Linked DNA regions of Homo sapiens: regions 1, 2 and 3 are each linked to region 4. Evidence: promoter capture Hi-C in human tissues and cell types (Jung and others, 2019). All regions are on one chromosome and are shown on one strand. The core of a region is centred on a gene start or on the middle of the fragment in contact, and the rest is flanking DNA. Distances in the headings are between cores, read along the strand shown.

What was found. Contacts are between HindIII fragments. The study calls those that stand out against the background at their distance.
Region 1: a contact is called between a fragment that was not itself captured here and the fragment with the promoter of KLHL11 in region 4, in 2 of the 25 tissues and cell types used here (IMR-90 fibroblasts and lymphoblastoid cells).
Region 2: a contact is called between a fragment that was not itself captured here and the fragment with the promoter of KLHL11 in region 4, in 3 of the 25 tissues and cell types used here (IMR-90 fibroblasts, heart left ventricle and liver).
Region 3: a fragment that was not itself captured here is called in contact with the fragment with the promoter of KLHL11 in region 4 in 3 of the 25 tissues and cell types used here (hippocampus, liver and mesenchymal stem cells).

The regions. Positions count from the first base shown.
Region 1 is chr17:42,116,635-42,119,668 of GRCh38, forward strand. KAT2A (lysine acetyltransferase 2A) reads right to left here. Exons shown (of 18, transcript NM_021078.3): 5 at 2,903-3,034; 6 at 2,611-2,802; 7 at 1,663-1,769; 8 at 1,273-1,383; 9 at 1,044-1,180; 10 at 754-962; 11 at 401-527. Among named protein-coding and RNA genes, the nearest start is that of KAT2A, 3.2 kb to the right of the region's middle. The HindIII fragment of the contact is 4,791 bases long and covers 1-3,034 here.
Region 2 is chr17:41,703,020-41,706,032 of GRCh38, forward strand. No RefSeq gene overlaps it. Among named protein-coding and RNA genes, the nearest start is that of GAST, 7.8 kb to the right of the region's middle. RefSeq lists an enhancer at 2,033-2,825. The HindIII fragment of the contact is 6,214 bases long and covers 1-3,013 here.
Region 3 is chr17:41,998,395-42,001,280 of GRCh38, forward strand. DNAJC7 (DnaJ heat shock protein family (Hsp40) member C7) reads right to left here. Exons shown (of 14, transcript NM_003315.4): 2 at 2,088-2,176. Among named protein-coding and RNA genes, the nearest start is that of DNAJC7, 18 kb to the right of the region's middle. The HindIII fragment of the contact is 6,309 bases long and covers 1-2,886 here.
Region 4 is chr17:41,864,063-41,867,099 of GRCh38, forward strand. It overlaps KLHL11 (kelch like family member 11), which reads right to left and starts at 1,361. Exons shown (of 2, transcript NM_018143.3): 1 at 764-1,361. The coding sequence starts at 1,308. ACLY (ATP citrate lyase) reads right to left here. Exons shown (of 29, transcript NM_001096.3): 29 at 2,856-3,037. RefSeq lists a silencer at 1,322-1,511 and enhancers at 1,545-2,045, 2,046-2,546. The HindIII fragment of the contact is 18,491 bases long and covers 1-3,037 here.

The DNA.
Region 1 (3,034 bases), core at 535-3,034, 250 kb after region 4:
GAGTATCACTTGAACCTGGGAGGTTGAGGCTGCAGTGAGCCCTGATCATGCCTCTGCACTGCGGCCTGGGTGAGAGAGACCCTCTTTCAAAAAAATAAATAAAAAATAAAAAGTAAAGTAATTAATTCCCCCATGTATGTAAATGTTCTTGTGATGCAGAAAACCCAAGTCCACAGGTCCACCAAAGTGTGGCTGCTGCTTGGGCTCCGTCTGTCAACAGGTGGTTTCCTAATCCACAGTTATCAAAGTACGGCTGCCACCTTGTGGGGATGTGAGGAACGGGCCGCTAACTAAGAGAAGAGCAACGGGCTGCTGCATGCCACACATCCTGCTGCTCCGAACTGGCCCAAACTCAGGAGTGGGCCGTGGACTGGGGCTGGGGCCGGGGAGCCGCGCTCACCTTGACCTGCTCATTCGAGGTGACAGCACAGAAGACAATCTCCGTGAAGCCCTGGGTGGGAAACATGCGGAAGCAGATGCCACCGATGACCCGCCCATCCTTGATCAAGGCCAGAGTCTTGTGCTTCCTAAGAGAGAGGGGGGCATGTCATAGCCCCTGACTGTCCCCTTCAGGTCCCCAGAGCCCTGGAAGTCTGAGCTGTAGTCAGGGTTGGGCAGTGAGAAGTAAGAATGCTCAAAGGATGAACCTCAGAAGTGGGGAGCAGGGGATCCCCAATTTTGAGGAGTGAAGAGGCCGAGGAGGAAGGGAACTGGGTGTGCTGCCCTGGGGGAGGGGCTCTCTGGGGGACGCACGGGTCAAAGACGAGGCGGGCGATATACTCCTTAGGCATGCGCGGCAGCTGGTGGGAAAAGACATTCTGCAGCCCCACGAGCCACAGCAACACCCGCCGGTTGGCCTTGGGCGTCAGTGAGTTGCCGATGACATGGAACTCGATGATGCCGCGGCGCTCCTCCAGGCGGGCTGTCTCATCCCGGGCCGCATTGGCCGAAAGCAGGCTCGTCTGGGCACAGAAGAGGGGTGGTGAGCCGGGGTCTCAGGTTGGTGGGGGTCCCCCAACTGGTCAGCAGGTCGGGCTGCCCACCTCAGGCCCCAGCATGGCAGCAGGGTCAGTGATGGTCAGCATGACCTCATTGACCAGCTCCATGGGGATGTCACCCATCACACGGAGCCGCTTGGCATCCTCCAGGGTCAGGTTCTCTGGGAGCGTCCTCTTCTCGCCTATTGGGGAGGCAGGCAAGGTTGCTCAGGATCAGTAAAAAAGGTTTGGGAAGGAGTGAATGAGGGTCAGAGGTCAGGGGTCAAGTATCCACCTGGCATAGGCTCGGCCCCTGCAGAATCCAGACTCAGGGAGCTGTTGCTGCCCCCACCCATGCTGGGGCTGAAGATGGGGGTGCTGGGAACAACCGCTGCACTGACTGAAGCTGAGGAGAGAGAGAGACGTCAGGGATGGGGGGCTGAAGCTGAGGAGAGAGAGAGAGAAGTCAGGGACGGGGGCTGAAGCTGAGGAGAGAGAGAGTCAGGGACGGGGGTGCTGAAGCTGAGGAGAGAGAGAGAGAAGGCAGGGACTGGGGGGGCTGAAGCCGGTGGCAGGTCCCTCAGTGGGATCCAGGGCCTCCGGCCCAGGTGAGCTCTCTTCCACCCAGGAGGCTTAGCTCAGCCAGGCAGGCCAGACACCCTACAGAGCGTACCATGGCACATACCTGGCCGGGGAACCAGCTGTGTCCCCTCTGAGGGTGGCATGGTGAAGCCTGACTCCCAGATTGGAGAGTTTGCCCCATAGATCTCCTCCTCCAGCATGGACAGGAATCTGTAGGGAGGACACAGTCTGTCCCACAACTCTGTTCTCCAGGGTGCAGCCTGGGCCAGGCAGCAGAGGGACTGGAGGCTGGTCAGAGACAGACCCTGCTCTTAGGGAACTGGGGACCTGAGAGAGGGGACAGCCCCTGTCTTCTGGGAGCCTCCAATTGAAGGTAAGAGGACAGGACACATCCAGGACAGAGATCAAACAGGCTCAGTTTCACCACGCTGTGTGGCACAGGGAGACAGGTCTGAGCTGATGTCATCCTGTGCTGTGTGGCCAGGCAGGGCACCTTGTCACCCTGAGCCCCCTCACTGCCCTCAGTATCAAAATGGGCTCAGACTCCACCCCACCTTGCCATCTCTTGTTCCCACCTGATGGCAGGGGGCACTAGAGAGCCAGGATTAGTCAGTCAGGGTTTTTTGAACAGGGGAGTTATGGCCTAGATTTTAAAAGGTGTGGCCGAACAGAAGAAAATGGTACAGAAAAGACCAGAACAGGAGTAGAAATTGGTTTCACTTCAAGCTTAAGGTCTGGTTTCTTGGAGAGTTGTGCAGGGAAGGAGTCTGAGGCTGTGTCCAGGCCCCCATGGGAAACAATTAGTAACATCTACTGGGGCGTAGGGTCGGGTGGGGGCAGCGTTAGCTTGGGCTATGTACCTGCCATCCCCAGACTAGTACTAGCAAGTTGCTTCTGGGCCATGGGCAAGTCTGCCAGGTAGACGCCCAGATCCCAAAAGGCCCATGGAGGGAGAGGAGGGACCAATCCAGGAAGCCTTCCTGGAAAAAAGGGGACAACAGGGAGGATGTGAACTTGGGGCCAAATCCTGGTAGGCCAGAAGGAGCCTTACTTGGGGAAGTGAGTGAGGATGAGGGTCCTCTTCTCGGGCACCAATTTGTCCTTCTCCACTCGGAACTTTTCCAGCAGCTGCCGGCGGGTAACGGTGAAAATGGACCGGAGAAGGCTTCGCCCAAAGACATGAGTGGTTTCGTAGCGGGGGAGGCTATCACAGCTCTGGGGCACGTGGCAGTAACAGAGCCATCTGGAGTAGGGGGTCGAGGGGGAGACAGGTGAGGGCGGAAACCACTGAACCCAGGCTGGGCCTGCAAGCCTCCCCCGAAGCTGCCCCTGGCTGGGCCTACCTGGTGTAATTGACCTTGTAGGTAGCCACGTCCTCAGCCTGAGACCTCTGCCGAAACTGGGCAGGTGTCTCAAGCTTCCAGTAGTTAAGGCAGAGCAAGAACATCTTTGAGAGCTCGAACATCGTCTGCCGC
Region 2 (3,013 bases), core at 163-2,662, 160 kb before region 4:
CCGCCCAGGTTCAAGCAATTATTCTGCCTCAGCCTCCCGAGTAGCTGGGCTTACAGGCACGCGACACCATATTCAGCTAATTTTTTGTATTATTAGTAGAGACGGGGTTTCACCATGCTGGCCAGGCTGAGGCAGAAGAATCACTTGAACCCGGGAGGCGGAGGTTGCAGTGAGCCAAGATCGTACCACTGCACTCTAGCCGGGGCAACAGAGTGAGACGCTGTCTCGAAAAAAAATAAAATAAAATAAAAAATAAATAAAAATATAAAAATTAGCCGGGTGTGGTGGTGAGCACCTGTAATCCTAGCTACGCGAGAGGCTGAGGCAGGAGAATCGCTTGAACCCTGGAGGCGGAGGTTGCAGTGAGCCGAGATCGCGCCATTGCACTCCAGCCTGGGCAACAAAAGCGAAACTCTGTCTCAAAAAAAAAAAAAAAAAAGGCCGGGTGCAGTGGCTCACACTTGTAATGCCAGCACTTTGGGAGGCCGAGGCGAGTGGATTGCCTGAGGTCAAGAGTTCGAGACCAGCCTGGCCAACATAGTGAAACCCCGTCTCTACTAAAAATACAAAAAATTTGCTGGGCGTGGTGGCAGGCACCTGTAATCCCAGCTACTTGGGAGGCTGAGGCAGAAGAATCACTTGAACCCAGGAAGCGGAGGTTGCAGTAAGCTGAGATCCTGCCATTGCACTCCAGCCTGGGCAACAGAGCGAGACTCTGTCTCAAAAAAAAAAAAGAATGAAGTTCTGATGTATACTACAACATGAATGAATCACAAATGCATCATGCTAAGTAAAATAACCCATACACAAAAGGCCGTATATTGTATGATTCCAATTAAATGAAAGTCTCAGAATAGGCAAATTCTTGGAGACAGAAAGTAGATTTGTGGTTTCCAGGGAAAAGGGGGAATGAGGAATGACTGCAAATGGGTGTGGGGTGATGAAAGTGTTCTGAATTAGATAATGGTGATAGTTGCACAAATGTGTGAACTAAAAGCCACTGAAGCTGGGCTTGGTGGCTTGCATCTCCAGTCCTAGCTACTTGGGAGGCTTAGGTGGGAGGATCATTGAGCCCAGAAGTTAGAGAATAGCCTGTGCAACACAGCAAAAAACCTGTCTTTGGCTGGGCACAGTGGCTCAAGTCTGTAATCCCAGCACTTTGGGAGCCCAATGCAGGAGGATCACCTGAATTCAAGACCGGCCTAGGCAATATAAGAAGACCCCAGCCAGGCGCAGTGACTCACGCCAGTAATCCCAGCACTTTGGGAGGCCGAGGCGGGCAGATCACTTGAGGTCAGAAGTTCGAGACCAGCCTGACCAACACGGTGAAACCCCATCTCTACTAAAAATACAAAAAATTAGCCAGATGTGGTGATGGGCGCCTGTAATACCAGCTACTTGGGAGGCTGAGGCAGGAGAATCACTTGAACTCGGGAGGTGGAGGTTGCAGTGAGCTGAGTTCATACCACTGCACTCCAGCCTGGGTGACAGAAGAAGACTCCGTCTCAAAAAAAAAAGAAAAAGAAAAAGAACTTGTCTCAAAAAGAAAGTAAATAATATAAAAGCCACTGAAGTGTATACTTTCAAAGGGCAAAAGGTATGGTATATAAACAATATCTAAATAAATGGCTTTTTTTTTTTTTTTTGGAGACAGTCTCACTCTGTTGCCCAGGCTGGAGTGCAGTGGTCTGATCTCGGCTCACTGCAACCTCTACCCCCTGGATTCAGGCAATTCTCCTGCCTCATCCTCCTGAGTAGCTGGATTACAGGCATGCGCTACCACTCCCAGCTAATTTTTGTATTTTTATTGGAGACGGGGGTTTCACCATGTTGGCCATGCTGGTCTCGAACTCCTGTTCTCAAGTGATCTGCCTGCCTCAGCCTCCCAAAGTGCTGGGATTACAGACATGAGCCACTGCGCCTGGCTAAATGGCTTATTTAAAAAAAAAAAAAAAAAAAAAAAAAGAATTGCATCATTTCCAAAGCTGGCTGGGTGGGCACATTATGAGCAGGGGTGTTGCCCTTGCCACATGGCAGCATCTCTCTGGCTCGTGGACAGAAATGACCTCTGCCGTCTGCCAGGGATCATTTGGAATCAGGTGGGTTTATATATGCAGCAAAACTTCAGTAAAGCTTGAAGAAACGCACTGATCCTTCTACCTTCTCTGAAATAACGTTCTCAATAGCGAGGTCATAGGCATAACCAGCCATCCAAACCTCCCCCATGGCCCCTTGAGCCCACCATGTGTCACTCCAACCCACCCCACTCCTGGGCTCAATAGACAACAAAGAAAAGGGAAGAGAAAGAACAAAGACCCCCCTCGATCACCATTGTGTCCCCAGGGTCAGAACAGTGCCTGACACAAAGCAGGCACTTGGAAAATTTGTGTTGAGTAAACAGATGCATGGATGAATGAGTGAATGAAAGAGTGAAAGCACACGGTCTCTAAGCAGGCAGGAGGGTCTGGGATGATGGGCCCTGGTGGAGGGGCTGACACTGAATGGGGTGACAGAACCTCCAGCGATGGAGGAAAGGAGGAAAGGACGGAAGCGGGACTTAGGCAGCTGTGTTCACGGTGGGGAAAAGGGGGCTGACGTCAAATGACCTTGGGAATGAAAGAGAAATGATTCACCACAGTTGCCAGTAACAACCAAGCTGCAGAATATTAATTTGCAATTGAATCAACTGGTCACTTTCGGAAACTTCCTGTCGGTTTTTGCAGGGAGTGGCAGGAGCTGAGGAAGGGGTCGGGGTGGCCTGTCAGGGACCTGGGACCAGCCTGGCAGGTTCAGAAGCAGGACAGGGGCAGCAATCTATGTGCATCACACAGAACTGAGATGACAAACCCTGGGAGGGGTAGGCGGGCTGGGAGGAGCCAGACAGTGGAGGAGCTGGAGGTCACAGTGAAGACAGATTCAGCAGGAGCGAGGCTTCTGGAGAGGGTGGGATGGGAAGCTGTGGGCCGAGAAGAGGCAGCAGCACATGGAGTCCAAGACCCGGGGGTTCCCCAAC
Region 3 (2,886 bases), core at 225-2,724, 130 kb after region 4:
CTAGGAGGTGAAGGTTGCAATAAGCCAAGATTGTGCCACTACACTCCAGCCTGGGTGACAGTGACACTGTCTCAACAATAAATAAATAGGCTGCATCCAAATTTCTGACTGCTTGTGCAAATGGACAGCAGCAAGGATACAATCAGTTTTAAAACAAAACAAGGTACGGCTTTGAAGTGTAGTGATTATCTTTTGAGGAGAGAGGCAGCTTATTAATCTTAATGAACTGTTTTGTATAATGAGACATTAAAATGAAATGTGCATGTTGAGCTGGGGTAAGCAAATTAGGTGAGAAGAATGCTGACACGGGATTAAAGTATGCTGGCAAATTAAGCATGGAGATAACTAAGACTTCTTTTATGTACAAAGGCCATTTTCTAAGGTAGTAAATGAATTGACAATGACTGAAATGTATTTAGGTGGGTTTTGCCATAACATTCAGTATTTCTGGAATTGCCTTTAATTTATCAAAAGAAAAACTACCCACCCCAGTTAGAAGAAGTTATCACAGCTGGGGATGGTGGCACATCCCTGTAATTCTAGCACTTTGGGAGGCCAAGGTAGGAGGATCGCTTGAGCCCAGGAGTTTGAGACCAGCCGGGGCAACATGGTAAGACCCTGTCTCTATTTTAAAAAATTTAAAGAGTTAAAAAAAAAGAAAAGAAAAAGAAAAAAGTTATCATTCATGAGTTTGTTTTTTTTTTTGAGACGGAGATTCGCGCTTGTTGCCCAGGCTGGAGTGCAGCGACGTGATCTTGGCTCACTACAACCTCTGCCTCCCAGGTTCAAGCAATTCTCCTGCCTCAGCCTCCCGAGTAGCTGGGATTACAAGCGCCCACCACACCTGGCTAATTTTTGTATCTTTAGAGACAGGGTTTCACCATGTTAACAGGCCAGGCTGAAATGAAATGTGCATGTTGAGTTGGGGTAAGCAAATTAGGGGAGAAGAACTCCTGACCTCAGGTGATCCGCCCGCCTCGGCCTCCCAAAATGCTGGGATTACAGGCATGAGTCACCACGCCTGGCCTTCATGAGATCATTAAGCCTGAAGGAGTTCATACAGTAACAGTTATCAACCCATTGGGCAAAAGGCTACTTCTCAGAGAGAAGCTACTTTTCTCAATTTTTTTTAATTTAATTTTTGAGATGGAGTTCTTTGGTCGTCCCCCAGGCTGGAGTGCAACGGCAGGATCTCAGCTCACTGCAACCTCCACCTCCTGGGTTCAAGCGATTCTCCTGCCTCAGCCTCCCTAGTAGCTGGGATTACAGGCACGCACCACCACACCCAGCAAATTTTTGTATTTTGTAGAGACAGGGTTTCACCATGTTAGCCAGGCCGGTCTCAAACTCCTGACTTTAGGTGATCTGCCTGCCTTGGCCTTCCAAAGTGCTGGGATTATAGGCGTGAGCCACTGAGCCTGGCCTATTTTTTTTATCTTTTTGAGATGAAGTCTTGCTTTGTTGCCCAGGTTGGAGTGCAGTGGCACAATCTTGGCTCACTGCAACTTCTACCTCCCGAGTTCAGGCAATTCTCCTGCCTCAGCCTCCCAAGTAGCTGGGATTACAGGTGCCCGCCACCAGGCCCAGCTAATTTTTGTATTTTTAGTAGAGACAGGGTTTCGTCATGTTGGCCAGAGTGGTCTGAAACCCCTGATCTAAAGTGATCCGCCTGCTTTGGCCTCCCAAAGTGCTGGGATTACAGGCATGAGCCACTGAGCCTGGCCTATTTTTTTTATCTTTTTGAGATGAAGTCTTGCTTTGTTGCCCAGGTTGGAGTGCAGTGGCACAATCTTGGCTCATTGCAACCTCTACCTCCCGAGTTCAGGCAATTCTCCTGCCTCAGCCTCCCAAGTAGCTGGGATTACAGGTGCCCGCCACCAGGCCCAGCTAATTTTTGTATTTTCAGTAGAGACGGGGTTTCGTCATGTTGGCCAGAGTGGTCTGAAACCCCTGATCTAAAGTGATCCTCCTGCTTTGGCCTCCCAAAGTGCTGGGATTACAGGCGTGAGCCACCAGGACTTGGCAGCTACTTTTAATAATATTTGGCAAGTAAATGTTTTCTAGCGTAAGTATCAGTTCTTTCTCACCTATGGCTTTTGTATAATAATTATAAGCTTCATTGTAATCTTTCTTGGCATAGTATGCATTTCCTTGTTCCTTGAAAGTCTCTGCTTCCCTGAAAATGAAAGAGAAAGAGAATCATGTTACTTTACAAAGGGAATAACCTCTGTAATCTTACAGGAGGAATCTTTGGTCTAGAGCCCGCAGCACACTGAGCTGAAAGTTAGTGTGATACTTGAAGGATTTATAGATTTGTTGAATAGGCCAATGGACCAAAAGGAGGTGCTAATGAAAGAATCCAAGTTCTTCAGATGCTCCTTTTTGTCACTTAGATACATTCAAACTAAATCAAGAAAACCCCTCTTATGTTCCTGCCTCACCTCACTATTTCTGCCTGTAGTCATCCTCCCCGCAGGACAAATTTAGACATTCCCTCATGGCAAGGAATTTTTCTATCTCCTTCCACAGTGTCACAACTGCTGCCTCTTTTGCAAACTTACAGGAAAAATGGTTACTCCATTCAGGGCAACTTATTTCTCAATGTGAAATAGGTCACATCCTCAAGAGTTTTAATAATTTCACCTCCTGAAAAGTGGCTCATGCATTTGTCACTGGAAGAACAAGCAGAGCAAAGGCAGGTGGCAAAAGAGTTAAAAGCATAGCATGTTGGTGTTTAAGACAGGAACAGAGCTGAGTGACAGCAGAGACTAAGACCGTGGATGACAGGGACATATGAGGTACAGGATGCCAGTGCCATACTATAAGGAGCACCCATCCACTGGTGTTCCCTCTTCCCATCACAACAATGTAGGTACTTGCTGCCCT
Region 4 (3,037 bases), core at 111-2,610:
GAGCTGATGCGTAATAGGCGCTCAATAGGCATTTTTGTTAATGTATCTGTAAGATGATAATTGCCAAAACAAACGCCTCTCCATCTCTATAAACGGTATTACCTGCCTTCTAACCAGTCTCTGGAGCATTCCTGCTCCCTACAATCCGTTTAACACAGTGGCAGAATAATATTAAAATATTTAAATGAGCTATTTCTTTACCCAGCTTCCTATCACACTTAGTGAAATCCAAACTCCTTATTCCAACGCATCTCACGCATCCTTCTCCCCTTCATCCACTAGATCCAGCCTCACTGGACTATATTTTAATTCTCTTCTCTAAGCCAAACTGGATCCTGCCTGAGGGCGTTTGCGCTGTCTGGAATATTCATTCCCCATCTTTGCACGGTCAGTTATTTTTTGACATTCAGAGGTCGATCTAAACTTCACCTCTTCAGAAAGATCTTTATTCAATCCCTAGCCTTTCATTCCTTTTGAACGTCAGCACAACAGTTACCACATACTGACTTTCCTTTTCATCACTTTTGTCCCATCACCTAGTATCTGAGCTCCTTGGGCGCGGGGCGCCCTCGCCGGACCTGATGGTGCATCCTCCTCGCCCACCGCGGTGGCTGCCCCCAAGCAGGCGCTCAGCGAGTGTGAAACCAATGCATTCACTCAGGACTCGCGAGCTGCCGTGGCAGGCACTGCCCTCCCCTCCGCCAGCGAGCATCTCCCCCTCTCCGCGCCCGCCGCCCTCCGCGCTCCCGCCTCCCTCGCCTACCTGTCGGCCAACTCCAGCACCTCGTGCACGCTGCCCGTGCTGACGCGGATGCGCCCGGTGTACATGTACTCGATTACGGCTTCCACTGTGTCGGGTTCGGGCCCCGGCTCGGAGCTCCACTTGCGCATCTCCACCCGTCCCGAGCGGGACTCGGAAAACTGGCCCGAGAGCAGGGGCGTGAAGTACTCGGTGGCGGCAGCCAGTACCGAGCGGTGGGCCCGGAACTCGCGGCCTCCAGCCCCGCCGAAGCACAGGGTAATGTCGCAGAAGAGGCCCTGGCGCCGCTGCTCGTTCTGCCGCCAGGACAGCTCTGAGCAGTGAGAGCTGCACTCGAAATCCTCGGCTTCTGGGCCCGGATCGCCCCCGCTCGCCTCCATTGCAGAGATCCCCGGCCCAGGCCCGAAGTCCACCGTGCCGCTGCCTCGGACCTCGGCGGCCAGTCCTGCCGAGCCGGCGGCGGCCGTCTCCATGCTCTCCATCTCCAGTACCTGAAGAGATGCAGCCGCGGCCGCCGCCGCCGCCGCCGCCACTGCCGCAGCCGCCATCTTGACGCCGCTGCGCCCGGCCTCCACAGCCTCGGAACGATGCGGCTGTTGGTACGACACAGAGGGATTCTGGGATTAAATAGTGCGCGCGGGGCGGGGCCAGGTCGCCCGCCGGCCGCACATGCGCCGCCTCGCCTCCAGCAGCGCCGCCTCGCCTCCAGCAGCGCCGCCTCGCCTCCAGCAGCGCCGCCTCGCCTCCAGCAGCTCTGCCTGCCTTGGTGAGGTCCGTCAGTAACAGTCGCCCAGTCCAGAAGACTTCGCCCCAGGCCTACCCCCAGGGCGTCGGTGCGAGTATGGCTCGCTTCCTTTCCTTAGTGGGTAGCATGCTCTCTGCAGTCATTTTGTCGAGTAAAGCCACCTTAGACCATCACCTGTTGTTAAAGCCTTGAGTGGCAATACAGGATTTTTATAAGATCTAGCCCCAGCTAAGTGGATGAGGGATGAATGAGTTACTCGTTATCCGTTTTTTTTTTTGTTTCTTTTTGTTTTTGTTTTGTTTTGGGTTTTTTGTTTTTTTTTTTTTTGAGACGGAGTCTCGCTCTGTCGCCCAGGCTGGAGTGCAGTGGCGCGCTCTTCGCTTATTGCAACCTCCGCTGCCCGGGTTCAAGCGATTCTTGTGCCTCAGCCTCCCGAGTAGCTGGGACTACAGGCGCCCGCCACCACTCCAGGCTAATTTTTTTTTTTTTTTTTTTTTTGAGACGGAGTCTCGCTCTGTCGCCCAGGCTGGAGTGCAGTGGCGCGCTCTTCGCTTATTGCAACCTCCGCCGCCCGGGTTCAAGCGATTCTTGTGCCTCAGCCTCCCGAGTAGCTGGGACTACAGGCGCCCGCCACCACTCCAGGCTAATTTTTTTTTTTTTTTTTTTTTTGAGACGGAGTCTCGCTCTGTCGCCCAGGCTGGAGTGCAGTGGCGCGGGTCTCGGCTCACTGCAACCTCCGCCTCCCGGGTTCACGCCATTCTCCTGCCTCAGCCTCCGGAGTAGCTGGGACTACAGGCGCCCGCCACCATGCCTGGCTAAGTTTTTGTATTTTTAATAGAGACGGGGTTTCACCGTGTTAGCCAGGATGGTCTCGATCTGCTGACCTCGTGATCCACCCGCCTCAGCCTCCCAAAGTGCTGGGATTACAGGCATGAGCCACCACGCCTGACCGTAGATGAGCATTTTTAAAACCATATATACTGAAACTATTAGTACAGTTCAGGCCAGGCCAGGCACAGTGGCTCACGCCTGTAACAGCACTTTGGGAGGCCAAGGAGGATGGATTGCTTGAGTCCATGAGTTCCAGAAGAGCCTGGGAAATACAGCAGAACCTTATCTCCACAAAAAATACAAAAGTTAGCCTGGAGTGGTGGCATGCTCCTGTAGTCCCAGCTACTTGGGAGGCTGGAGTGGGAGGACTGCTTGAGCCCAGGAGATGGAGGCTGCAGTGAGCTGTGATGGTGCCACTGTACTCCAGCCCTGGGGCGACAGAGTGATACCCTGTCTGGAAAAAAGTACAGTTACAAAGGAATACAGATCAAAGGATATGGATGCCAGGAGCCAGCAGTATGCCTTCATTGTTACTATATAGTTTATTTAAACCAGACTATGATAATACAGAGAAGAGACTGAGGTGGCAGCTGCCCAGAATCTTTGTGGATTACAGATGCAAAGTAGTTAGGAGTCCTTGGACCCACACTTCAGTTACAGACAGACAAATCAGCTGCATAAATACAGAGAACATAAGACAC